7 separate regions of the Homo sapiens genome follow, and regions 2, 3, 4, 5, 6 and 7 are each linked to region 1. The links are contacts of gene promoters, found by promoter capture Hi-C in blood cells and fetal thymus (Javierre and others, 2016). All regions are on one chromosome and are shown on one strand. The core of a region is centred on a gene start or on the middle of the fragment in contact, and the rest is flanking DNA. Distances in the headings are between cores, read along the strand shown. Region 1 holds the start of NQO1 (NAD(P)H quinone dehydrogenase 1). Region 2 overlaps TERF2 (telomeric repeat binding factor 2). Region 3 overlaps TERF2 (telomeric repeat binding factor 2). Region 4 has its middle 18 kb from the start of TERF2. Region 5 holds the start of CYB5B (cytochrome b5 type B). Region 6 overlaps CYB5B (cytochrome b5 type B). Region 7 overlaps CYB5B (cytochrome b5 type B).

What was found. Contacts are between HindIII fragments. The CHiCAGO score rates a contact against its expected background, and 5 or more counts as called.
Region 2: a contact is called between a fragment that was not itself captured here and the fragment with the promoter of NQO1 in region 1, in 1 of 17 cell types (activated CD4 T cells). The highest score is 7.0, in activated CD4 T cells.
Region 3: a fragment that was not itself captured here is called in contact with the fragment with the promoter of NQO1 in region 1 in 2 of 17 cell types (endothelial precursors and activated CD4 T cells); the score reaches 6.3 in endothelial precursors.
Region 4: a contact is called between a fragment that was not itself captured here and the fragment with the promoter of NQO1 in region 1, in 3 of 17 cell types (activated CD4 T cells, megakaryocytes and naive B cells). The highest score is 8.9, in activated CD4 T cells.
Region 5: a contact is called between the fragment with the promoter of CYB5B here and the fragment with the promoter of NQO1 in region 1, in 2 of 17 cell types (neutrophils and activated CD4 T cells). The highest score is 5.8, in neutrophils.
Region 6: a contact is called between a fragment that was not itself captured here and the fragment with the promoter of NQO1 in region 1, in 1 of 17 cell types (activated CD4 T cells). The highest score is 5.3, in activated CD4 T cells.
Region 7: a fragment that was not itself captured here is called in contact with the fragment with the promoter of NQO1 in region 1 in 1 of 17 cell types (activated CD4 T cells); the score reaches 7.2 in activated CD4 T cells.

The regions. Positions count from the first base shown.
Region 1 is chr16:69,724,833-69,728,019 of GRCh38, forward strand. It overlaps NQO1 (NAD(P)H quinone dehydrogenase 1), which reads right to left and starts at 1,728. Exons shown (of 6, transcript NM_000903.3): 1 at 1,601-1,728. The coding sequence starts at 1,607. NQO1-DT (NQO1 divergent transcript) reads left to right here and starts at 1,895. Exons shown (of 2, transcript NR_186363.1): 1 at 1,895-2,343. RefSeq lists enhancers at 1,211-2,203, 1,290-2,489, 1,736-1,995, 2,204-3,187. The HindIII fragment of the contact is 8,732 bases long and covers 1-3,187 here.
Region 2 is chr16:69,358,037-69,361,223 of GRCh38, forward strand. The region is part of intron 8 of TERF2 (telomeric repeat binding factor 2); the gene reads right to left. Among named protein-coding and RNA genes, the nearest start is that of TMED6, 7.8 kb to the left of the region's middle. RefSeq lists a silencer at 546-746. The HindIII fragment of the contact is 7,774 bases long and covers 1-3,187 here.
Region 3 is chr16:69,380,181-69,383,367 of GRCh38, forward strand. All of the region lies in intron 3 of TERF2 (telomeric repeat binding factor 2), which reads right to left. Among named protein-coding and RNA genes, the nearest start is that of TERF2, 4.2 kb to the right of the region's middle. The HindIII fragment of the contact is 1,060 bases long and covers 1,043-2,102 here.
Region 4 is chr16:69,402,876-69,406,062 of GRCh38, forward strand. No RefSeq gene overlaps it. Among named protein-coding and RNA genes, the nearest start is that of TERF2, 18 kb to the left of the region's middle. The HindIII fragment of the contact is 499 bases long and covers 1,465-1,963 here.
Region 5 is chr16:69,422,911-69,426,097 of GRCh38, forward strand. CYB5B (cytochrome b5 type B) reads left to right here and starts at 1,709. Exons shown (of 5, transcript NM_030579.3): 1 at 1,709-1,947. The coding sequence starts at 1,774. RefSeq lists enhancers at 992-1,539, 1,540-2,087. The HindIII fragment of the contact is 7,938 bases long and covers 1-2,790 here.
Region 6 is chr16:69,443,702-69,446,888 of GRCh38, forward strand. All of the region lies in intron 1 of CYB5B (cytochrome b5 type B), which reads left to right. It also overlaps the pseudogene LOC100420066. Among named protein-coding and RNA genes, the nearest start is that of CYB5B, 21 kb to the left of the region's middle. RefSeq lists a silencer at 1-86 and enhancers at 433-512, 543-802. The HindIII fragment of the contact is 3,851 bases long and covers 1-3,187 here.
Region 7 is chr16:69,461,132-69,464,318 of GRCh38, forward strand. It overlaps CYB5B (cytochrome b5 type B), which reads left to right. Exons shown (of 5, transcript NM_030579.3): 5 at 1,299-3,187. The coding sequence ends at 1,389. Among named protein-coding and RNA genes, the nearest start is that of CYB5B, 38 kb to the left of the region's middle. The HindIII fragment of the contact is 1,595 bases long and covers 725-2,319 here.

The DNA.
Region 1 (3,187 bases), core at 478-2,977:
AAAAAACCTGGATGCTTTAGTTAACCTCAAGATTTGGTTAGCTGGGTACAGCTAAAACTAATTATACAAGATCCAAGTCTTCCCTTTTCACCTCATTACCACCGCCCTTTTTTGTGTTTAAGCTACACGTAAATACAGAACATTCTGTAAGATTGAAAAGTCAGGAAATAGTTCCTGCCCTAGTATTGGAGGAGAGGGTGCCAGTGCCTCGACGCTGAAGAATGAAATACAAGGGAAACAGCAACCACCGTGTATGCGGCAAGCCTCTCAGCTGTCAGAATCTATTCCCTGCTGTCTCTGCCAGTAACTCATGCTGGGCTACCAATCCCCAGCTTAGTCCCTTTCTCAGAGATCCTGATAATTTCAGTTTGTCAACTGCAAGGGCAGTCTGTTCCTCCACTCACTTTGACCAAGATGGGCTTCTTTGTGTACAGGCGCATTTTTAGAGGCAGGACCAGGTCCACAGGGAAGGAAATTACAAAACACAGGATTCTGCCCCAGATGAGGCAACAGCTTTCTAAATCTTAGTACTGTCCAATCTCAGAGTGAGATTATTTGGGAAACAGCTCTCAATCCCTGCAGTTGTCTCAGCTGGTTATTTATGCCTTGGGTGGAGCTGGGGTGACCTCTGAGTTCCCCTAGGGTCGATGGCCGAGTGGGAAGGCTCTATCACTGAAGTGGACCCAATACTAGAAACGGATCCAGTACGATCTGATCAGGTTTGCCTAATCCAAGGGCCTCAATGGAAAATGCCTCCCAAGGCCAGGCACGGTGGCTCACGTCAGTAATCTCAGCACTTGGGGAGGCTGAGGTGGGTGGATCACCTGAGGTCAGGAGTTCAAGACCGCGCTGGCCAACTTGGCGAAACCCGTCTGTACTAAAAATATAAAAATTAGCCGCGCATGATGGCGCACTCCTGTAATCCCAGCTACTCGGGAGGCTGAGATGGGAGAATCGCTTGAACCCGGGAGGCGGAAGTTTCGCTGAGCTGAGATAGCGCCATTGCACTACAGCCTGGGCGACAAGAGCAAAACTCCGTCTCAAACAAAACAAAACAAAACAAAACAAAACAAAACCTGTGCCTGGCAGCCTGGAGCCGGTTCTGGTCTCCGTCAAACCAAAGGCATCAGTTTCCTCCACTCCTGTCCACCAATCGCCAGATATTCTCATTTTCTTCAGAAGCTCGGAATCCACATTTTTAAGTGAAATCACCCATTTTAATGTTAGCAACTTATTTCAAAGTGTTTTAGATACTATAGACCAAAAGAGGTATGGGCTGTGACCGTAAGCCTGATTTGGCCTCTGACGGCCAGTTTCTGACCACAGTTTTGGAGGGAATTTCTGCTTCCAAGGTCAAGTTTCTCCTAAATGCCCACTAGAGTTCGTGGGGTGGAGTGAGGAAGGATCCGCGACACCGGATACAAACAGAAGCTCTCCTTCTCCCGGAGTCCGATCAAGGCTCATCCCAGGTCCCTAATCTCTTCCCTTTGTGGGTTTTGAGTCAAGGAACAAAATTCAGGGCCAAGCCCCTACAACCTCCTCCACAGGCACCAGTGCTCGAGAGACGACCGCCAAGCACCCCGCCCTTTGCAGCACTCACCGACCATGGCTCTGGTGCAGTCCGGGGCGCTGATTGGCTGGGCTCGTGGTTGCCGGGGCGACCCTGGCCGGAACTAGGCTCTCGGTGAGCTGGGCGGCTCCGGCTGCAACCTTGTGGGAGTCGCGTGTGTAGTGCACGGTGCATTCTCTCTTATATATCCTGTCCGGCCCGTTTGAGGTGGACAGCCTACAAGGGCGGGACCCAACGCCTGAATCCTGGGGTGCTGGGCGGAGGATGCTGAGGCTGCAGCTCCAGGAAGGGAGGGAGCCTGGGGGATGAAGGAGGGGCCTCTCCACTCTCACCCGCCGGAGCAACTGGTGGAAGTCAAGAAAAGTCTCTCGGGGCTGGGGGAGGGGATTGTAGGGGTGTGTGTGACAGAGGCCTCAAAAATCTGGCTGGGGGTGCTAAGGCAAGCCCATCTGCGCACTGTGCCCTGAGGTGCAAGAGGATGCAGGGTGGAAGTCGTCCCAAGAGAGTCCAGGGATCAAGTGGGCATGCCCTTTTAGCCTTGGCACGAAATGGAGCAGAAAAAGAGCCGGATGCGGATTACTGTGGTGCCCTAGGCTCAGATTCTGCTGAGTCACTGTGACTGCGGATTTGGAAGGCTGAGAGTCCTGGGGAGACATGCTCCGTGGAGACGAATTTGTTTCTTCCTTTGCAAGATTCAGATTCTGCACTTGGGGGCCCATACAACACACTTCCCTGGGTGCATGCCACTGCACCACCCCTGCTCCTCAAGGCAGGTAATGGGGGAACTAATTGGTTTTGTTTCCCATGAGCTAAGGCAAGGCTGGTGTGGAGATAGCAGTTATAGGGAAGCATATTAAAGAATAGCCAAAACGGGACCAGGCGCGGTGGCTCACGCCTGTAATCCCAGCAATATGGGAGGCCGAGGTGGGTGGATCACCTGAGGTCAGGAGTTCGAGACCAGCCTGGCCAACCTGGTGAAGCCCCGTCTGTACTGAAAAATTAGCTGGGCGTGATGGCGGGCGCCTGTAAGTCCCAGCTACTCGGGAGGCTGAGGCAGGAGAATCGCTTGAACCCGGAAGGCGGAGGTTGCAGTGGGTCGAGATCGTGCCACTGCACTCCCGCCTGGGTGACGAAGTGAGACTCCGTCTCAAAAAAAACTCTATAAAGTAAAAGTTACTGTAAAGAAGGAGATATACTCTCAGTAGGTGAAGGAAAAAGAACTAGAGCTTTAAAGTGGTAATTAACCATCAGAAGAATCACAGATGGGGGAGGTGAGGATGACACAGGGCCCTTCCGTTGTCCCTCCAGTGCAAAAGTTAAGGAGGCACCAGAAAACTGGTTTCCAACTCCCGACCTCAGGTGATCCTACCGCCTCGGCCTCCCGAAGTGCTGGGATTACAGGCATGAGCCACCGCGCCCGGCCCCATCGTGACATTTTTGCATTCATTTTGATGCAACAAGAGAGGACTATATTATTTACACGTATTTACAAATTACTTTGGGAGGCTGAGGCAGGAGGATCACTTGAGCCCAAGAGTTTGAGAAAAGCCTGAGCAACAAAGTGAGACCCCATCTGACAAAATAGTATAAAAGGACGTTTTAAAAAAGGGCTAGGTA
Region 2 (3,187 bases), core at 452-2,951, 370 kb before region 1:
GAGTCTCACTCTGTCGCCCAGGCTGGAGTGCAGTGGAGCGATCTCGGCTCACTGCAAGCTCCGCCTCCCAGGCTCACACCATTCTCCTGCCTCAGCCTCCCGAGTAGCTGGGACTACAGGCGCCCACCACTACGCCCGGCTAATTTTTTTGTATTTTTAGTACAGACCGGGTTTCACTGTGTTAACCAGGATGGTCTCCATCTCCCGACCTCATGATCCGCCCATCTCGGCCTTCCAAAGTGCTGGGATTACAGGCATGAGCCACCGTGCCCGGCTAATTTTTGTATTTTTAGTAGAGATAGGGTTTCACTGTGTTAGCCAGGGTGGTATCAATCTCCTGACCTAGTGATCCACCCACCTCGGCCTCCCAAAGTGCTGGGATTCCAGGTGTGAACCACCATGCCTGGCCCCAACATCGTTTTCTAAAATTACTGAGGGAACGTCATATTTAAAACCCTTATGTATATATAATGTCTACATATACATATAGGTATTAGTGTGTGTATGTATATATACAGTCATATGTTGCTTAACAATGGGGATATGTTCTGAGAAATGCATCGTTTGGTGATTTCATCCTTGTGTGACTTACACAAACCTAGATGGTAGAGCCTAGGCTCTAGCCTGCAACTTCTTATCTATGGAGAAAGTATCTGACAACTGCTAACTCATGTCCCCATGTCTAACAACATGGCTTTCTCAACTTTTAAAGGACTAGAGTCATCCACTGGACTTAGGAACCAAAAACATTGGTGCAACTCCAAATAAAAGTAACAAACATGTATTCTTCCACTGCTATAACAGTCCTAATCCCCTTAATCTTACCGATTACTATTAACTTAGCTAACCTCTGCAAAAAAGGAATATGCCTACGATATATGGTGTAGCCTATTTTTCCGCTACAAACCTGTACAGCATGTGACATGCAACTGTGACACAATGGTAAATATTGTGTATCTAAACATATCTAAACAGAGACAAAGTAATGCATTGCACTACAATGTTACAATGCCTATGACATCTACAATGTCACTAGGCGATATGAATTTTTCAGCTCTATATATAACCTAATGGGACCACCGTCACCATATATGCAGTCCATCGTTAACCAAAACTTTGTTATGTGGCACATGACTATAGGTGTGTTTATATGTATAATTTCTGCATTATAACCCCTTGCTAACCACTGCTTTGAAATCACATGGTTTTGGCTGGGTGTGGTGGCTCACGCCTGTAATCCCAGCACTTTGGGAGGCCAAGGCGGGCGGATCACTTGAGGTCAGGAGTTCGAGACTAGTCTGGACAACATGGCAAAACTCCTTCTCTACTAAAAATATGAAAATTAGCTGGGAGTGGTGGCACATACCTATAGTCCCAACTACTCGGGAGGTTGAGGCAGGAGAATCACTTGAACCCAGGAGGTGGAGGTTGCGGTGAGGCAAGATCGCGCCACTGCACCCCAGCCTGGGCAACAGAGCGAGACTCTGTCTCAAAAAAAAAAAAAAAGAAATCATATGGTTTTGCTGTTTTGTACTAAAATTTTCTTTTTTTCTCCTTCATTTTTTAATCTTCCTCTTACTATCATTCCCAATTTTTTTTTTTTTTTTTTTTTTTTTTTTTTTTGCCCAGGCTGGAGTGCAGTGGTGCAATCTCAGCTCACTGCAACCTCCGCCTCCCGGGTTCAAGCTATTCTCCTGCCTCAGCCTCCTGAGTAGCTGGGACTACAGGCGCCTGCCACCACACCCGGCTAATTTCTGTATTTTTAGTAGAGACAGGGTTTCACCATATTGGCCATGCTGGTGTCGAACTTCTGACCTTGTGATCCGCCTGCCTCGGCCTTCAAAAGTGCTGGGATTACAGGCGTGAGCCACCACTCCTGGCCTAAATTTTTTTTGTTTGTATTTTTTGTAGACATGGAGTTTTGCCCTCTTGCCCAAGCTGGTCTCCAACCCCTGAGTTCAAGGAATCCGCCTGCCTCGGCCTCCCAAAGTGCTGGGATTACAGGCATGAGCCACTACGCCCAGCCTAGAATTTTCAAGTCCTTGTTCATTTTATAGAAGTACAATTTGGGTCTGGGCGGTGGCTCACACCTGTAATCCCAACACTTTGGGAGGCTGAGGCGAGCAGATCACTTGAGGTCAGGAGTTTGAGAGCAGCCTGCCCAACATGGTGAAAACCCGACTACTAAAAATACAAAAATTAGCCGGGCGTGGTGCGACACACCTGCAATCCCAGCTACTAAGGAGGCTGAGTCATAAGAATCACTTGAACCTGGAAGGCGGAGGTTGCAGTGAGCCGAGATCGCACCATTGCACTCCAGCCTGGGCAACAAAGTAAGACTGCATCTCAAAAAAAAAAAAGAAAAAAAGAAAACAATTTTGGTAGGGTATGGTATGGTGGCTCACAAGTATAGTCCCAGCACTTTGAGAGGATGAGGCAGACAGATTGCTTGAGCCCAGGAGTTCGAGATCATACTGGCCAACATGGTGAAACCCTGGCTCTACTAAAAATACAAAAAAAGATTAGTTGGGCATGGTGGCAAGGGCCTGTAGTCCCCGATACTCCAGAGGCTAAGGTGGGAGAATTGCTTTAGCCCAGGATGTCACGGCTACAGTGAGCCAAGATCACACCACTGCATTCCACCTTGGATGAGAGTGAGACCCTGTCTCAAAAAAAAAAAAAAAAAAAAAGGATTTATATATAGAAACTGTTAAGATTTTTTTTTCTTTAAACAAGAAATGCAGGGAATGACCCCCTACTACCACATCTAATTGAAGGATTTTAGGAAGAACATCAACTATAATTAAATATCATAGGCGTTATTAAAACAAAACCAAGAACTCTCTTTAAACATAAGGCGTTACTCTGACAGTCTCCATTATTTAATGGGAGAGGACATCAGACTGACTCCTTGACCAGGGCACAGTGACTCACATCTGTAATCCCAGCACTCTGGGAGGCTGAGGTGGGAGGATCGCTTGAGCCCAAGAGTTTGAGACCAGCCTGAGCAACAAAGTGAGACCCCATCTCTACAAAAAGTGAAAAAAACAGCCAGGTGTGGTGGTGCACACCTGCAGTCCCAGCTACTCAGGAGGCTGAGGCAGGAGGATCACTTGAGCCCAGAAGGTTGAAGCTCAGTGAGCCATGTTTACACCACTGCATTCTGGCCTGGGTGACAGAGCAAGAC
Region 3 (3,187 bases), core at 323-2,822, 340 kb before region 1:
GAGATTACAGGTGTGAGCCACCATGCCCTACCCTTGGTTAAGGCATTTTTAAAAATCTGGCTTTATACACATACGAAGCTGAAAATGGAGGAGTATTTTAATAGCTTTTTCAGAAAACTGTGGCTATTCTTGTTTGATTCTACACGAAACTGCAGTAAGTAAACTTTTCTTAATCTGTCACATTAAAATCCATCAGTCAGCTGGGCGCAGTGGCTCACTCCTGTAATCCCAGCACTTTGGGAGGCCAAGGCGGGTGGATCATGAGGTCAGGAGTGCAAGACCAGCCTGGCCAAGATGGTGAAACCCATTTCTAATAATAATACAAAAATTAGCCAGGGGTGGTGGTGGGCGCCTGTAATAACAGCTACTTGGGAGGCTGAGGTGTAGAACTGCTTGAACCCAGGAGGCGGAGCTTGCAGTAAGCCGAGATCACGCCACTATACTCCAGCCTGGGCGACAGAGAGAGACTACGTCTAAAAAAAAAAAAAAAATCCATCAGTCTATCTTGTAGTTTAAATAGATCTTTCATCCATGGATGACTTCATAACATCATGCATTGGTCATCTGGAAAATACTGGTTCACTGAGTTATGAAGATCTTCAAATATTGACACATTCATTAATTTTTTTTTTTTTTTTTCTGAGATGGAGTCTCACTGTTTCCCAGGCTGGAGTGCAGTGGTGTGATCTCGGCTCACGGCAACCTCCTCCTCCCGGGTTCAAGCAATTCTCCTGCCTCAGTCTCCCGAGTAGCTGGGATTACAGGTGCCCACCACCACGCCTGGCTAATTTTTTTTGTATTTTTAGTAGAGACGAGGTTTCACTATGTTGGCCAGGCTGGTCTCAAACTCCTGACCTCAGGTGATCTACCTGCCTTGGCCTCCCAAAGTGCTGGGATTACAGGCGTGAGCCACCGCGCCCAGCCTAAAAAATATTTTTTAAATGTCAGTTGTTAATATTACCAATCTTCAGAAAAGACTAAGTATTGGGAAGCTATCAAGCACATGAATACAAGTTTTCCAAAATTCTGTTTTTCACTAGAAAGCTTAAACTTTATCACTGGCAACAAATACTGTCACTTGTTTTATGTGACAGGTTTGCTTTACTCATTCTCAAGAAAATGACTGCCAAATACCCAAGTGTGAACAACTGTAATTTGTCAGTTGTTCTTCAGGTAAAATAGTATTCCATAAAAAAGCAGCTAGTTCAGCATGCAACTCTAATAATAACACAAGTGCTTTTCCTGGTAACCATCATGTTTTGGTATGCAGCAGAAACATTTTAGTCATACTTCCTCTTATTTTTTTTTTTTTCTTTTTTGACAGGGTCTTCACTCTGTCGTCCAGGCTCGAGTACAGAGGTATGATATCAGCTTACTGCAACCTCCACCTCCCAGGCTCAGGTGATCCTTCTGCCTCAGCCTCCCAAGTAGCTGACACCACAGGTGCACACCACCACACCCAGCTAATTTTTTGTATTTTTGTAGAGACAGGGTTTCACTATGTTACCCAGGCTGGTCTGGAACTCCTAGGCTCAAGCGATCCACTCACGTCAGCCTCCCAAAGTGCTAGGATTACAGGTATGAGCTACTGCACCTGGCCCATACTTTCTATTTCAACACACAAAATCCTGAAAAGATGTTTACTCAAGGCTCTAGAGTTAATAAAATTCATCCAGTTTTTGCTGCTTTACCAAAGACATTCTTTTTTAAATTTTTTTTTAATGGGAGTTCTGAGCTTTTAAACAACTGTGACTAACATTCTTAATTAAAATTGGTAGTTTTAAAAAAAATTGTGGCAGTGAAGAATACAATGACTACTAGTACAATTACTACCATCTTGATCACGCTAAGGAATCACCCATTTTACTCATCCTTGCTTTTGTACCATCAATGCAAATGCCAATGCATTGAAAAAGTCAAATAATGTTTTGGTTCTGCTTATGAAAACAGTTTTGACCTCATGGCTTCTCTGAAAGGGTCCTGGGGACCTCCAGAGATCCCTAGACCATGCACTGAGGGTTCTAACTTAACAAATAACTTACTTGATAAACTTTGCGAAAGATTCAATATACTTTTAAATAAATTGTTTTGGCACTTTACAAAGCTTAAATGCATGAGCAAGGCTCACTGAACCTAGGCGTCTGTAGAATTTTCCCGATCATTAACAGATTCCGTGACTGTAAATGAGAAACTTTTACAAAGTAAATTGAAGAGATGGATGAAATAATATCATTTAACAACTAGGAGATCAAGGTAATTGTGGTTGCCAACCTCAAAGGCAGCCCCCAATGCGCCTCACCTCTTGCGGAGTCCCATTCACACTCTACCAGAGTGAGTCTAGTCTGTATGACCAAGAGCATATGGTGGAAGTGATAATGTGTCACTTCCAAGATTAGACTCTACAAGAATGAGACTTCTGCCTTGGGTTCTTGCTCTCTTGCATGATTTGCTGTAGGAAAACAAAGCTGCCATGTTGCAAGCAGCCTTATCTGTGAAGAGGCCAGGAGCTGAAGTGTCCAGCCAACAGCCAGTAGGAAAGTGAGTCTTGTTAACAACTATGTGAGTAGGGAAGCAGTTGAGTCTTGAAATGACTGCAAACCTAGCTGACAGCTTGACTGTAACCTCATGAGAAACCCTGAGCCAGAATCACTAATAGACTCCTGATCCTCGGAAACTGAAAGATAATATTAACTGTTTTGAGCTGCTTATTCTTGGAGTAACTTGTTACACTGCAGTAACAATAAGCATAAGATCTAGTACGTGGTGGAGACTGGAAAAGGAGAACAGAGTCAACGTAAGAAAATGGCTACTCTGAGAGCTTAGATTTTTCTAATAGATTTTTCCTAATGAACCACCCAAATAAGGAGCTCTATGAGCCTAAATAATAATAATAAATACGCAGCTGAAAGATGAAAGCCCACAAAGACTCTTCCAGAAGAGGGGCCAGATGGCAAATCTATAGCCCTTGTGTTCTAAAGGAGTTGCTACAGGTTGAGCATCCTAAATCTGAAAATCCGAAATCTGAAATGCTCCAATGAGCATTTCCTTTGAGTGCCATGTTGGCACTCAAAAAGTTTCAGATTTGAGGGCATTTGGGATTTCAGATTTTTGGATTTGGGATGCTCAAACTAAATTTAATGCAAATATTCCAAAATCTGAAATCCAAAATGCTTCTGTTCCCAAGTAT
Region 4 (3,187 bases), core at 464-2,963, 320 kb before region 1:
ATTATACTGGATTAGGTTATGCATTCACATAATTTAAAAATTCTGAGGATACAAAGAGTATAAAGTGAAATTTGTTTCCCCATCTATGTTGTCCAGTTGCCCAGTTCCCTTCCCCAGTTCTACCAGTTCCTAGAATACCTTCCCCTAGATAGATATTTTGTACATGTTTAAAATAACATGTTTTAAATATTTTTAGTAGAGACAGGGTTTCATCATGTTGGCCAGGCTTGTCTTTACAGGCCCAGCATGGTGGCTCACGCCTATAATGCTAGCACTTTGGGAGGCAGAGGCGGGTAGATTGCCTGAGCTCAGGAGTTCAAGACCAGCCTGGCCAATGTAGTGAAACTCCGTCTCTACTAAAATACAAAAAATTACCCAGGTGTGGTGGCGCATGCCTGTAGTCCCAGCTACTTGGGAGGCTGAAGCATGAGAATCTCTTGAACCCGGGAGGTGGAAAGTGCAGTGAGTTGAGATCGTGCCAGTGCACTCCAGCTTGGATGACAGGATGAGACTCTGTCTCCAAAAAAATTTTAAAAATAAAATAACACATTTATATTTTCTCCCCTCCTTTTATTTTTTTATTTTACATTAGCAATAGAACACTATATGGGCCAGGTGCAGTGGCTCATGCCTGTGGGCCGAGGTGGGTGGATCACCTGATGTCAGGAGTTCAAGACCAGCCTGGCCAACATAGTGAAACCTCGTCTCTATTAAAAATACAAAAATTAGCTGAGCGTGATGGTGGGCGCCTGTAATCACAGCTACTCGGGAGGCTGAGGCAGGAGAATCGATTGAACCCGGGAGGCAGAGGTTGCAGTGAGCTGAGATGGCGCCATTGCACTCCAGCCTGGGCGAAAAAGCGAAACTCCATCTCTATCTCAAAAAAAAAAAAAAAAAAAAAAGAAAAGAAAAAAAAGAAAGAAAGAAAAAGAAATTAGAGAAGTATCTGGGATTTAGAAAGTTCAGAAAACTTGGAGAAGGGCCTTTGGCCCATGCGGTGGTTACTGAGATGCTCATTGTTTACGTGCAGTTGACTTCAAGATAGAAGGTTCAACCTCAGTGTCAAGCTCAACCTCCAGGACCCTCTTGGAGACTTCCAAGACCTAGGATGGCTGGGCATTCAGTGCTTTGGGAGCTGCCATCCTTCACCTGCTAGGGTTCTGTGTGGGATCGGGGTGGGGGTCTCTGTTACTCAGGAAACTGCCCTCCCTTCCTCCCAATTAGATTTGCACTTTATTACTTTTTTTCTTTAGCTTTTTTCGAGATGGACTTATACTTAAAAAAACCTGCTCTTAGATAATGGGTGGCAGGGGGGTAGAGGGGATTTGAGAAGACCTGGAAAATTCCCAGGTCTCCACTAAATAAGAAAACTGGAGAGTAAGGGGACTGGAGAGGAACGGAGAAAGAAATGTATTTTCTTTTCTTCTTGTAATCAGAACTGTAGCTTGCAATATTTTTTTCCCAAGCTTCTAAGAGAGTTTTGCAAACAATTGGAGTAATTAAAAGTTCTCAGAAGTAGCCGATGGTGCCCTTTTCACCGAGGGAATGTGGGCCAAGCATGATATATTAAAAGAGAGGGAGCTGCTCTATTGAAGTTAAAAATAATCTGTCACATGGCTAATTTGTTGGAATGCAGCAATAAAGGGCTGTGGGCAGAGGGAGAGCTGGAAGCAGCTGGGAAGTTTGCAGGCAGAGTGCACGCCCTGGGGACTGTGTTTGTAGGGAGAGAAAACAGTGTTACAGCTGCCTTAGGGCACCTTATCAGAAAACCCACAAAATGGGCAGGAAGAAGGAAGAGTAGGTTTGAGTCCAGAGCATGACCTTTGGGCTTATCAGACAGTGAAGGGATGGGTCAGAACTTGTCACCTGTGTTCACGGGATGCTGATTCACTCAGCAAGGATGAAGTCTTTTCAGATCCCCCTGCATTTGAATCCGTTTCAAAGGAATACATAATTCAAAGGAAGCTTTTGATCCGAAATCCATGGGAAAACCAATCTATAGGGTCTTGAGCGAAAAAAGTTCAAGCCAGGAATACAAATCCTAGTTTGGGGGATTGGGGATATTATAATTTTTGAAATGTTAGAGTTGAAAGAGAGAAAACAAATTATTTAGTATAATCCCTGAATTTTCCCTTCCTTCCTTCCTTCCTTCTTTCTTTCTGTCTTCTTCTTTTTTTTTTTTTTTTTTGAGACAGAGTCTTGCTCTGTTGCCTGGGCTGGAGTGCAGTGGCTCGATCTTGGCTCACTGCAACCTCTGCCTCCCGGGTTCAAGTGATTCTCCTGCCTCAGCCTCCTGAGTAGCTGGGACTACAGGCATGCACCACTGCGCCCACCTAATTTTTGTATTTTTAGTAGAGATGGGGTTTCACCATGTTGGTTAGCCAGGATGGTCTCGATCTCTTGACCCTGTGATCTGCCTGCCTCGGCCTCCCAAGTGCTGGGATTACAGGTGTGAGCCACCACGCCCGGCCTACTCCCTGAATTTTCTACATGAGGCAACAGGCTCAAAGAGGTTGATTTGCTCAAGGTCACTCAACCAGCAAGTAACAGAGCTAGATTCAAACCCAGGTCTTTAGCTAGAAAGGAAGGGCATAGTGGTTAGCAAATATAGGGTTCAGAATGCCCTGATGTCAAATCCTGGCTCTACCAGCAGGACCCTTGGGCAAGTTTCTAACTCCTCTCAGTGTTAGTTTCATCATCTGTAAGATGGGAATAACAATAGTACCCACTAGAATTGCTACAATGTATGTAAAGTGCTAAGTATGACATCCAGCCTAGAGGAAAGGCTTAATCAAACACTAGATGTTATCATGCCACAGCTTTTTCATCACCCTGCATCAAATTTCTAGAGCTTTCCGCAGATTAACTTGTCCAAACATCCTCTTTGGTTTGGGTGGGATTCTCTTTCTCCCTTTCCCACCTCCAACTCTCACCCATTATATATAAAGAAAAAGAGGGTGGCCGAACTTTAACCTCTCTATCCTCTGGTAGACACTTTCGCTAGCATTTCCTACATTGTAACACACCCATGAGACTTGTTTTCTCTTAAGCTACATGCCCTCCGGCCTGTATTTTCAGTATGGTTTCCAAGTTGCTGACAGGCAGAAACGGTGCCAACATGAAGAAGCAAGTATTGCTGCCCCAAATGCAGCAGCAAGATGTGTTTGAATGTTTTAGAATAGATGAT
Region 5 (3,187 bases), core at 459-2,958, 300 kb before region 1:
TGCTCTCATAGTGTCAGTCTAACTAGGGAGGTAAAATACGTAAAGTTAAAATTTACAGACGTAGCAGGCTTCCCAAAATAGTAATATGCTTTCTTAGGTACTACAAAGGGATGGAAGCACTGGAGCTCAAAACGGTAGGAGAAGTTTGAAAATAGAAGAAACTGAAGAGGAACTTGAAAAGCCGGTAGGCATTGAAAGGAAGAGGAGTCCTTGGGACAGCAATTGAGGGTAGAATGTGGAGTATCCCATGTTTCTACCACCATTCAGAATCCGATTTTCAAATGAATTCTGTGATGATCAGGATCAATCTGCACTATTTTAGTCTCTAAGTGATCTAAAATTAACTTGGTGGACCTGGGATGACCACGGATGTGGTTTTAAACCAGCAGGTTTCAGAGTCGGGGCGGGTGCAACAGGCTTATAAAGGGAATGGTGGAAAATATTATACGTTAGTGAAAGAGGTTGCGAATGGATTGTGGAGAGCCCTGAATGGTAGACTGCGAGAGTGACAGGATGAAAACGACGACATCATAGGAAGAGCAATCTGTCAGTTGTAATGGCAGTTAAAAAGTGGCGCACAACACTGTACCTTAACCAAACTTGGAATTCCAAAGTGCTGGGACCTCTAGCGGAGAGCAGTTGAGTTCAATTCTATTTTAGATCACGTAGAGACTAAAATAGTGCCGATTGATCCTGATCATCACAGAATTCGTTTGAAAATCGGATTCTGAATGATGGTAGAAACATAGGATACTCCACATTCTACCCCCAATTGCTGTCCGGGACAGCAATTGCCTTTCTAATCGACTGCCATGTTTAGCGATTACTATGCGCCAAGCGCTTTACAGGCACTCTCATTAAAATAGGCAAACCGGGCCAGGCGCGGTGGCTCACGCCTGTAATCCCAGCACTTTGGGAGGCCTACGCAGGCGGATCACCTGAGGTCAGGAGTTCGAGACCAGCCTGGCCAACATGGTGAAACCTACTCTCTACTAAAAATACAAAAATTAGCCGGGCGTGGTGGCGCATGCCTGTAGTTCCAGCTAGTCGAGAGGCTGAGGTAGGAGAATCGCTTGAACCTGGGAGGCGGAGTTTGCAGTAAGCCGAGATCGTGCCACTGCACTCTGGCCTAGGAGACAGAGCGAGAACTTGTCTCAAAAAAAAAAAAAAAAAAAAAAAAGGCAAACCCCTCTGTAAGAGAGTGCTTTATCAAGCCCATTTTACTGATGGGGAAATTGAGGAGAGACGGGATTGGCCAGATCACGACCTGGAGGCAGCAAAGATGTAAAATCAGGGTTGGGATACAGGCTGCGCCGGTAGTGTAGGGGATAGGAACTTTCTGAGACTCAGGAGAAAGCCACAGCGATGGGAAGGGAAGCAGAACACTGGAGACCCTAAAGGCCCACAGGCTGAGAGAAGTGGTACCTCTCCTGAAGTGACACCTGTCAGCACGCCTCTTTTGGGCGCCAGTCCAAAAATCGCGGTATCTGATTGGCGAGGTTGGAGGGGGCTGAACGACCCTAATTGGTTAGTTGGACCTCGAACCAGACTTTCATCTGGAGGATCGGGCGAGGAGTGGGCGGGATTTCGAACTGAGCCACTCCCTTCATTGGTGAAAAGAAAACGAACCAGGAACTATTCGGAAGTGTGATTGGCTGTTGCTAGGAACCGTCTCAAGGCCTTATGGGCCCTGGTTACGGAAGCCGAGGAAGGCTGAGCGCGGGCTCTCAAGGAAAGTAGTCGCGGAATCTCAGTTAGCGGTGGAGAGGCAGTATGTCCGGTTCAATGGCGACTGCGGAAGCTAGCGGCAGCGATGGGAAAGGGCAGGAAGTCGAGACCTCAGTCACCTATTACCGGTTGGAGGAGGTGGCAAAGCGCAACTCCTTGAAGGAACTGTGGCTTGTGATCCATGGGCGAGTCTACGATGTCACCCGCTTCCTCAACGAGGTGGGGCCTGGGAGGTGGGAGGCCTCTGAAGCTGCTGGGGCGAGGGGTGAAAAGGCTGTGTGGAGTGTATGTGGGAAGGAAGGGAGGCTTGGCTGGGGGCGATAAGGCGTAAGAAAGGGATCACGACCCTCAGAGGGAAACTGGGGTGGGATTGGGGGAGGGCTTTAGTTTGCATGCATTTCCAGTCAGCTCCGAGTTCTGGTGCCTTATGTAATATCATGTATTACTTATGTGTCGAGCATTTGCTGTGTGCTCAGCTAAACTCTAAGCCATCATTATCTTTATTTTACAGAAAGGGAAACTGAGGCTCACAGGTTGAGGACTCTCAGGGCCATAGAGTTAGCAGCTTAGATCCGTTGAACCTAGGTCTGAAGTGCACCCACATCTGTGCTTTTCCAGTGTGCCTTCTGAAGTAATACCGGTTTTGGTTTTCGTCTTCTAGAGTAGAAGCTGAGATTTCTCTCCACACGCTTCCCCATCTTGATTATGCCTCCACTGTTTTTTTTTCCCCCTAATCTGAGTTGACCTTGAGGCCAGAAACTCATAAATCAACCCTTTTTTTTTGTTTTTGACTCATGTTTTGTCATTTTTCTTAAATATTCAAGACTGTTTTATTTAATCTTCAAGTCTGTTGCATTACATCTCATTTTAAAAATTATTTTTGAGACCATGGTGCAACTAATTTTTTTTTTAAGGAAACAGGATAGACTTCTAAATATTTAAAACTTTATTGAGGTGTAATGTACATACGTAAATTGTGCCTATCTAAAATGTACATTTTGATGAGTTTTGAAAAATGTATTCATCCATGTTAAGACATAAACCATTTCCATCATTCTAAAAAGCTTCCTTTCCCTTTGCAGTCATTCTCTCCCAACCCCAGGCAACTAGTGATATGCAGCCGCTAAAGATTGGTTTGAAGCTTTGATTTTCGGTGTGTGTATGTTTGAAGCTTTGATTTTCGGTTTGTGTGTGATCATTTTATTTTGAGCAATAGATTAATGACTTGTGAAAGTTCACTTCTATTTCTCTGAAGCAAATATACTAGTGAAATATTTTTTCGATTAATTTGGGGCCTAAAAGAGAAATCTCTGCATCCTGACTTTTAATTCTAAAAACTTTTAAAATTTAAAAGTTTCCCCCAAAGAACATTATTTTTAATAAATCTTAATAGTGAACAATAATTTAACAAACTCAGAATTTACTAACTTCTTGCATTTGTATGGTGTATGGCATTTTA
Region 6 (3,187 bases), core at 327-2,826, 280 kb before region 1:
AAAATTAGCTGGGCATGGTGGCAGGCACCTGTAGTCCCAGCTACCTGGGAGGCTGAGGCAGGAGAATCGCTTGAACTTGGGAGGCAGAGGTTGCAGTGAGCCGAGATTGTGCTACTGCATTCCAGCCTGGGCAACAGAGTGAGACTCCGTCTCAAAACAAACAAACAAACAAACAACAACAACAAAAAACAGAGGGTCAGTGGAAATAGGACCTTGGTTGCAACAATGCCTGAGTATGTCAATGTTGATCCATTCACAAGTAAGAATCATAGGGATGACGTTTGTTATATTTCCTTTCATCATGCCTGAGAGCATAGTGGGAGGAAGTGGTGATATTTTTATCCTCTGGGTTGTTGATGTAATATTCTCATGTCAAGAAAAAGACTTTTTGGGAATGTAATTTCCATTTTCACTGAAGGCTCTGCTTCAAATTAGGACTTAACTGTCAGATACTTGCTCCTGGGTGAGCTTCTTGTCGCTCTGTACCAGGATGAACATGTAGTGGCAGATCATATCTGAGAAGAAGCAGATGATAAACATGGGCGGGACCATCCAGTGGCTGACGCTGGAGTTGGACAGTAGCTCCTACCCTCTGTCTTCACTGAGAGCTGGTCTGGCTTCTCCTGGGGTGCCGGGGCTCTTTGGGTTTTCGTCGAGGCCTTCGTATGCTCCTCAGCCTGGGCATTATCTTGGCCTAAGACTGGCCAGGACCCTGCTATAGCCTCGGGCCTAGTGCAGTGATTCCAACTCCTCCAGCTGGGCTGCCAGTGGCCCATGGCAGCCCTGCATCCATTTGATTTTCGCTAACTCTATCTGGAGACTATAGAGTTCTAAACAGAAACCAAAAGCTCCCTGACGTCTTTTTGCTTGTTCTAAGCCATCTCTATTAAGACCATATTTTAGAGTGAAAGTTATTAAACCGTAGAATTTTGTTTGATCACTCTGACCCCCACTTGCTTCAGTGAAAAAAAAAAAGAAGCAGGCTACAAAACATTATGTACTACATGAATTCACTTTGTGAGAACACAAAAAACTTTTATTTATCACTGCCTACCACACAAAATAGTAAGGATTCAATAAAAAATTGTAGACTAATGGCTGAAATGATTGAAAGAATACACAGGAAAAATGAAGTTTTATGCACCAAATTGTTAACTGGACTTATTTCTGTTCCAGGACTCTAGTTGATTATTCTTTTTTCCAAATTTACCACAGCGAATATATAACTTTTACTTAATATTTTAAAAAAGTGTTGTGCTTTCTCTTGTTTATAAGTGGTGAGAGACTGATGAAAGTGAAAGTACTTGTAGAAAGAACTGTGTAGCAAGTCAAAAATTCAGTCATTCCCTGAAATGTTGTAATCTATGAAGGAGTTTTATTGTCCTTTTACTCTGAAAGGCAACACAATAGTTGGGTTGTGTCAAAAGGAAAAAATATCATCCATAGTTTAGGTGTATAGAACAAATTGGGACATAATTCCAGAACTGATGACTTAGTTCCACAACAAAGAACAGTTTCACATATAATAACCTGAGAGTTTCAGATATAATAACAAGTGAATCGTGGCTGTCTTACTCTTGCTGTAAAATAGCATTCTTAAATACTGGGATGTGAGACCCACTCACTGGGTGGAGACCTTTTAGGAGATAAAAATAGAAGTTATCCTTATCCTCAGGGAGCTCATAGGCTGGTGACTATGACTGGGAAGTAACACTTACAGTTTTTATACTTCAATTGAATTAACATTTATTTAAAATAGGAATGATAATTTATTCCTGCTGAAATGGTTGTTATAAAAAGTAAAAAGCATTAATATTTCAAAAATACAAATTTTGATATATTAAATAATATAAATTCTAAATTTGCTAATTTAAGTAAATGTTTTTTGAGTATTTAAGTCAAGGACTGTGCTAAATATAATTTTACAAAATGGTTAATTTTCTGAGTAAGTAATGCTTTATTTGGTAAAACAGTTTCAGAGGCTGGGCATGGTGGCTCATACCTTTAATCCCAGCACTTTGGGAGGCCGAGGCTGGTGGATCACCTGAGATTGGGAGTTCGAGACCAACATGGAGAAAAACCCCGTCTCTATTAAAAATACAAAATTAGCTGGGCATGGTGGCGCATGCCTGTAATCCCAGCTACTTGGGAGGCTGAGGCAGGAGAATCGCTTGAACCCGGGTGGCAGAGGTTGCGGTGAGCTGAGATTGTGCCATTGCACTTCAGCCTGGGCAACAAGAGCGAAACTCCATCTCAAAAAAAAAAAATTTTTTTTCAGAAGAGTATGTGGTGAAGTCTTCCTTCTACCCTATCTCCCAGCCACTAGGTTCTTTCACCATTTTCAGAGAGATTTTATGCATGGGTATAAATATGCATATATATATCTTCATTTAAAAATTGTAGATGGTATTATATTATGCTCTTCTGGAGTGCAAAGTGTTTTATATGCTTATCTCATTTAATATGTACAATAGTTGTCAAGACAGGTACTCTTATTAATATTTCCATTTTACAACTAAGGAACTAAAGACATCTCAATTTTTTAATAACTTGTGCAGGGTCACATAGCTGATAGTTATAGAATCTACTTCCTGAGGCACTACTTTATATAGTTAACTTATTTATTTATTCATTTATTTTGAGTCAGAGTCTCACTCTTTTGCCCAGGCTGGAGTGCAGTGGCGTGATCTTGGCACACTGCAACCTCCCCCTCACAGGTTTAAGTGATTCTCCTGCCTCAGCCTCCTGAGTAGCTGGGACTGCAGGCACCCACCACCACCATGCCTGGCACTTTTTGTATTTTTAGTACAGACGGGTTCACCAAGTTGGCCAGGCTGGTCTTGAACTCCTGATCTCAAGTGATCTGCCCGCCTTGGCCTCCCAAAGTGCTGGGATTACAGGCATGAGCCACCGTGCCTGGCCTAGTTAACTTTTTAATTTGAAACAATTTCAAAGTTACAGAAAAGTTGCAAGAATAGAATAAAGAATTGCATATACCCTTTGCCTGGAGTCCTTAGTCAGGTTTCTGCAGCTATCTCAATAATATTGGCAAAAGGAACCAACCTAGGATCACCCATTATTCCCAGTTGTCATGAATCTCTAGCCTCCTTCAATCTGGAACAGTTTCTTCACTCTTTCTTTGACTTTCATGACTGTGGTATCTTTAGAGATCACAGGCCAGACCTGT
Region 7 (3,187 bases), core at 272-2,771, 260 kb before region 1:
GAGGTGGAGCTTGCAGTGAGCCAAGATCGCGCCACCGCACTCCGGCCTGGGTGACAATGAGACTCCGTCTCAAAAAAAAAAAAAAGAAAGAAAGAAAGAAATTTTCTCCTTCAATGTTTTCTCAAGGATCCTACTTTTGGATTCTTCAGTCTCTTGCGGTTACTCTTCAAGGAGTCTGAATTCATTACTCTTATCAGGAGATTACTTCAGAGTTCCCATGTGCATATTGCTGTTATACGTGCCATATTGCTTGGTTTTGTAAACAAAGCTACCTGGCTGATATTCTAAACTAGTCCAGAGTAGCTTTCTGCTGTACGTAAGCATACAGAGTGCTAGGCATGTTTAGGCAAAGAGAATCATTTTTCTTATGAACTTCAGCTCGTTTTATTGACTTCAAAACCTTTTAATACCAAGACTCATATGTCTTAAGTAGAGGGGCAGCCGGGTCATTTGGATCATGGAAGAATTATACCTTAAAACTAGTGTGCTAATAAGTTCTATTAAAGAATTATTATGTTAAGGAGAATGATGACTGTTCTGAAGCTCCTAAGGAAGGTCTCTTGCAGTACTTTTGAAGCTGCCATTTGCTTCACCCTGTTAGAACTGTATATGCTTTGTGTGTATGTGTATCCTTATTAGTGTCCAAACTTAACTAGGGATTAAGAGGATGGGTTTGGAATCAGACTGTCCAGCTGCCTTTCTAGCTTTGGGATTTGGGGTGCAAAGCTTATATTTCCCTTGTATGAGATGAGAATAATAACCCTATTTCGTAGGTTATCCTATTTCATAAGGATTAAATCTTTAAAATACATATGAAGCAGATAGGATATTTCTGGTAGTTATATTAGATATGATTACTTCCAAATTTATATTGGGATGGATATGTTTTTATACATATATGAAATGTCACATACATAATGGTGTTTTTTCCTGTTTAAAAATGTTTAATTGTAGAATACGTGAAAAGCAAAAGCACAATGAAGAAAATGTGAGAGTATCCATAATCCCTAACTCAGAAATAACCACTATATGACTTTGTAGAAACACATATAGAGGCATTTAAAGACATCTTATTTGATATCATACTATTGGTTGTTTTTAACCTTTTAAAAAATTACTTTGTAATATTGTCACTCCAATTCAAATATTTTTCCCCAACTACTTTGTGATAAAAGCAGTTAAATTTCCCAAAGTAAATAAAAACTCCTTGCCTATATAAAAACATGTGAAAGCTGAAAGATAGTGAACATTTGGCTTAAAATATTAACAACTTTATTGCTTTCTCCCCCTATTCCTAGTTGCTGGGCATATTGGATTTTACCCATCATAGGCGCTGTTCTCTTAGGTTTCCTGTACCGCTACTACACATCGGAAAGCAAATCCTCCTGAGGAGGCCTTGCTGAAGTTAGAAAGTGCATCCACTTTGGGGCGAAAACTAGAGACTTGCTTGGGGGCTGCAGAAGTGCCCTCTCCTCGAATCCTGCCAGTTGCATTCTTCCCCCTTGGAGCCAAGACGATTGGCCAGACATCACCTCAGATCTGAGACCAGCGTCTTCCATCTCTCAGAGCCTTACTCCCAAAGTACCTGCTCACTGTTCCGTGTTGAACAATTGCCGGTGTTTCCTCTCTTCACTGGTTTCCATGAGTACCCTTATATTTCACAACTTTCTGTTCATAAGTTATAGTGACATTGCTCTTTGGTAAAAATGCCTGCTTTCCAATACTTTGATTGCATATTAGACATTCTTAACAGGGCGGCAGTCTAGTGTTGAAAGTTTTATTTTTCCATTTTTCTTTTAAGTAAATTTTTTTTAAAAAATTCTGATTTAGGGCTAGGTGTGGTGGCTCAGGCCTGTAATCCTGGCACTTTGGGAGGCCAAGGTGGGAAGATCGCTTGAGGCCAAGAGTTCAAGACCAGCCTGGGCAACATAGCGAGACCCCTATCTGTATTAAAAAAAAATCTGATTTAATTCTTTTATTTATCATAAGGGGTTTAATTCCTGAAGTAAAGGTTTGCACCTATTAAACTTAAAACTGCCAAATGATTTTTGTTCTTTTATGTGCGTGATAAAAATACAAAGAATGGTGTGGCCACCTCCTCCCTTTCAAGCTAGGGCAGCAGGTAGCTCTTCCCAGCCCCTGAGCCCAGCCCCTTCCCAAGTGGTGCCGGACAAAAAACTACATGGCCCTTTCGTGTCTTGGGGGTGGAAAGGTAGGGATGAATTGGGGTGATAGAACCCTGGTGAATTCAGAGTAATCTTTCTTTAGAAAACTGGTGTTTTCTAAAGAAACAGGATAGGAGTTTAGAGAAGGCACCAAAGCTTTCACTTTGGTTTGGCACCAGTTTCTAACCATCTGTTTTTTCTACCCTAGCTATCTTTTATTGGTAAAATATAAATGTATAATTATGTTTGTAGAGCTTTACCAAGGAGTTTCCCTCCTTTTTTGTTTGTTGATTAGCAAATTTTTGATTCTCCATTTTCCAAAAGTAAGAGACTCCAGCATGGCCTTCTGTTTGCCCCGCAGTAAAGTAACTTCCATATAAAATGGTATTTGAAAGTGAGAGTTCATGACAACAGACCGTTTTCCATTTCATCTGTATTTTATCTCCGTGACTCCAACTTGTGGGTTTGTTCTGTTTTTCCATGAGAATAAAATACTGGCGGTTTTTTTCTCAGATGTGTGTTCATTGAGAAGTAGGTTACTAGAATTATGTTACTGTGTCTTATTGGTTCAATGATGATTTCTCTGGCATATTAGACTTTTATTTTTTCCCCCATGGAAGCACTTGAGGAAATAAATAGTACACTGGCTGTTTTCTGCCAGCAACTGTGGTGATTTTTCTCCCTGTCCTTTGAGAATTGCTAGTCTGCTTCTGAGCCATTGTCATATCCAGCAGGGAGCAGCTTGGTTCAAGAAGGACCATAGAGGCTGCTCAGCATCTCCTCCCTCCCTCCCAGCTTGCCAGGGATTTGATGAGACAGGAAACTGCCCAGCAAACCAGGGACTGCCCATGTAAACTATTTAAGAAAAAGTTCAACCCAGGTCTTGTATCCTGTGATTTAGCAGTTGAATGAATACAGAATTCATCAAAATAATATTAACCTTGTACTTGCACACTTGGATATATTTGGGAGTAATTTTAGGAGATTTCTGGCTGACTTTTATTATCAGGGATATGGGTTTA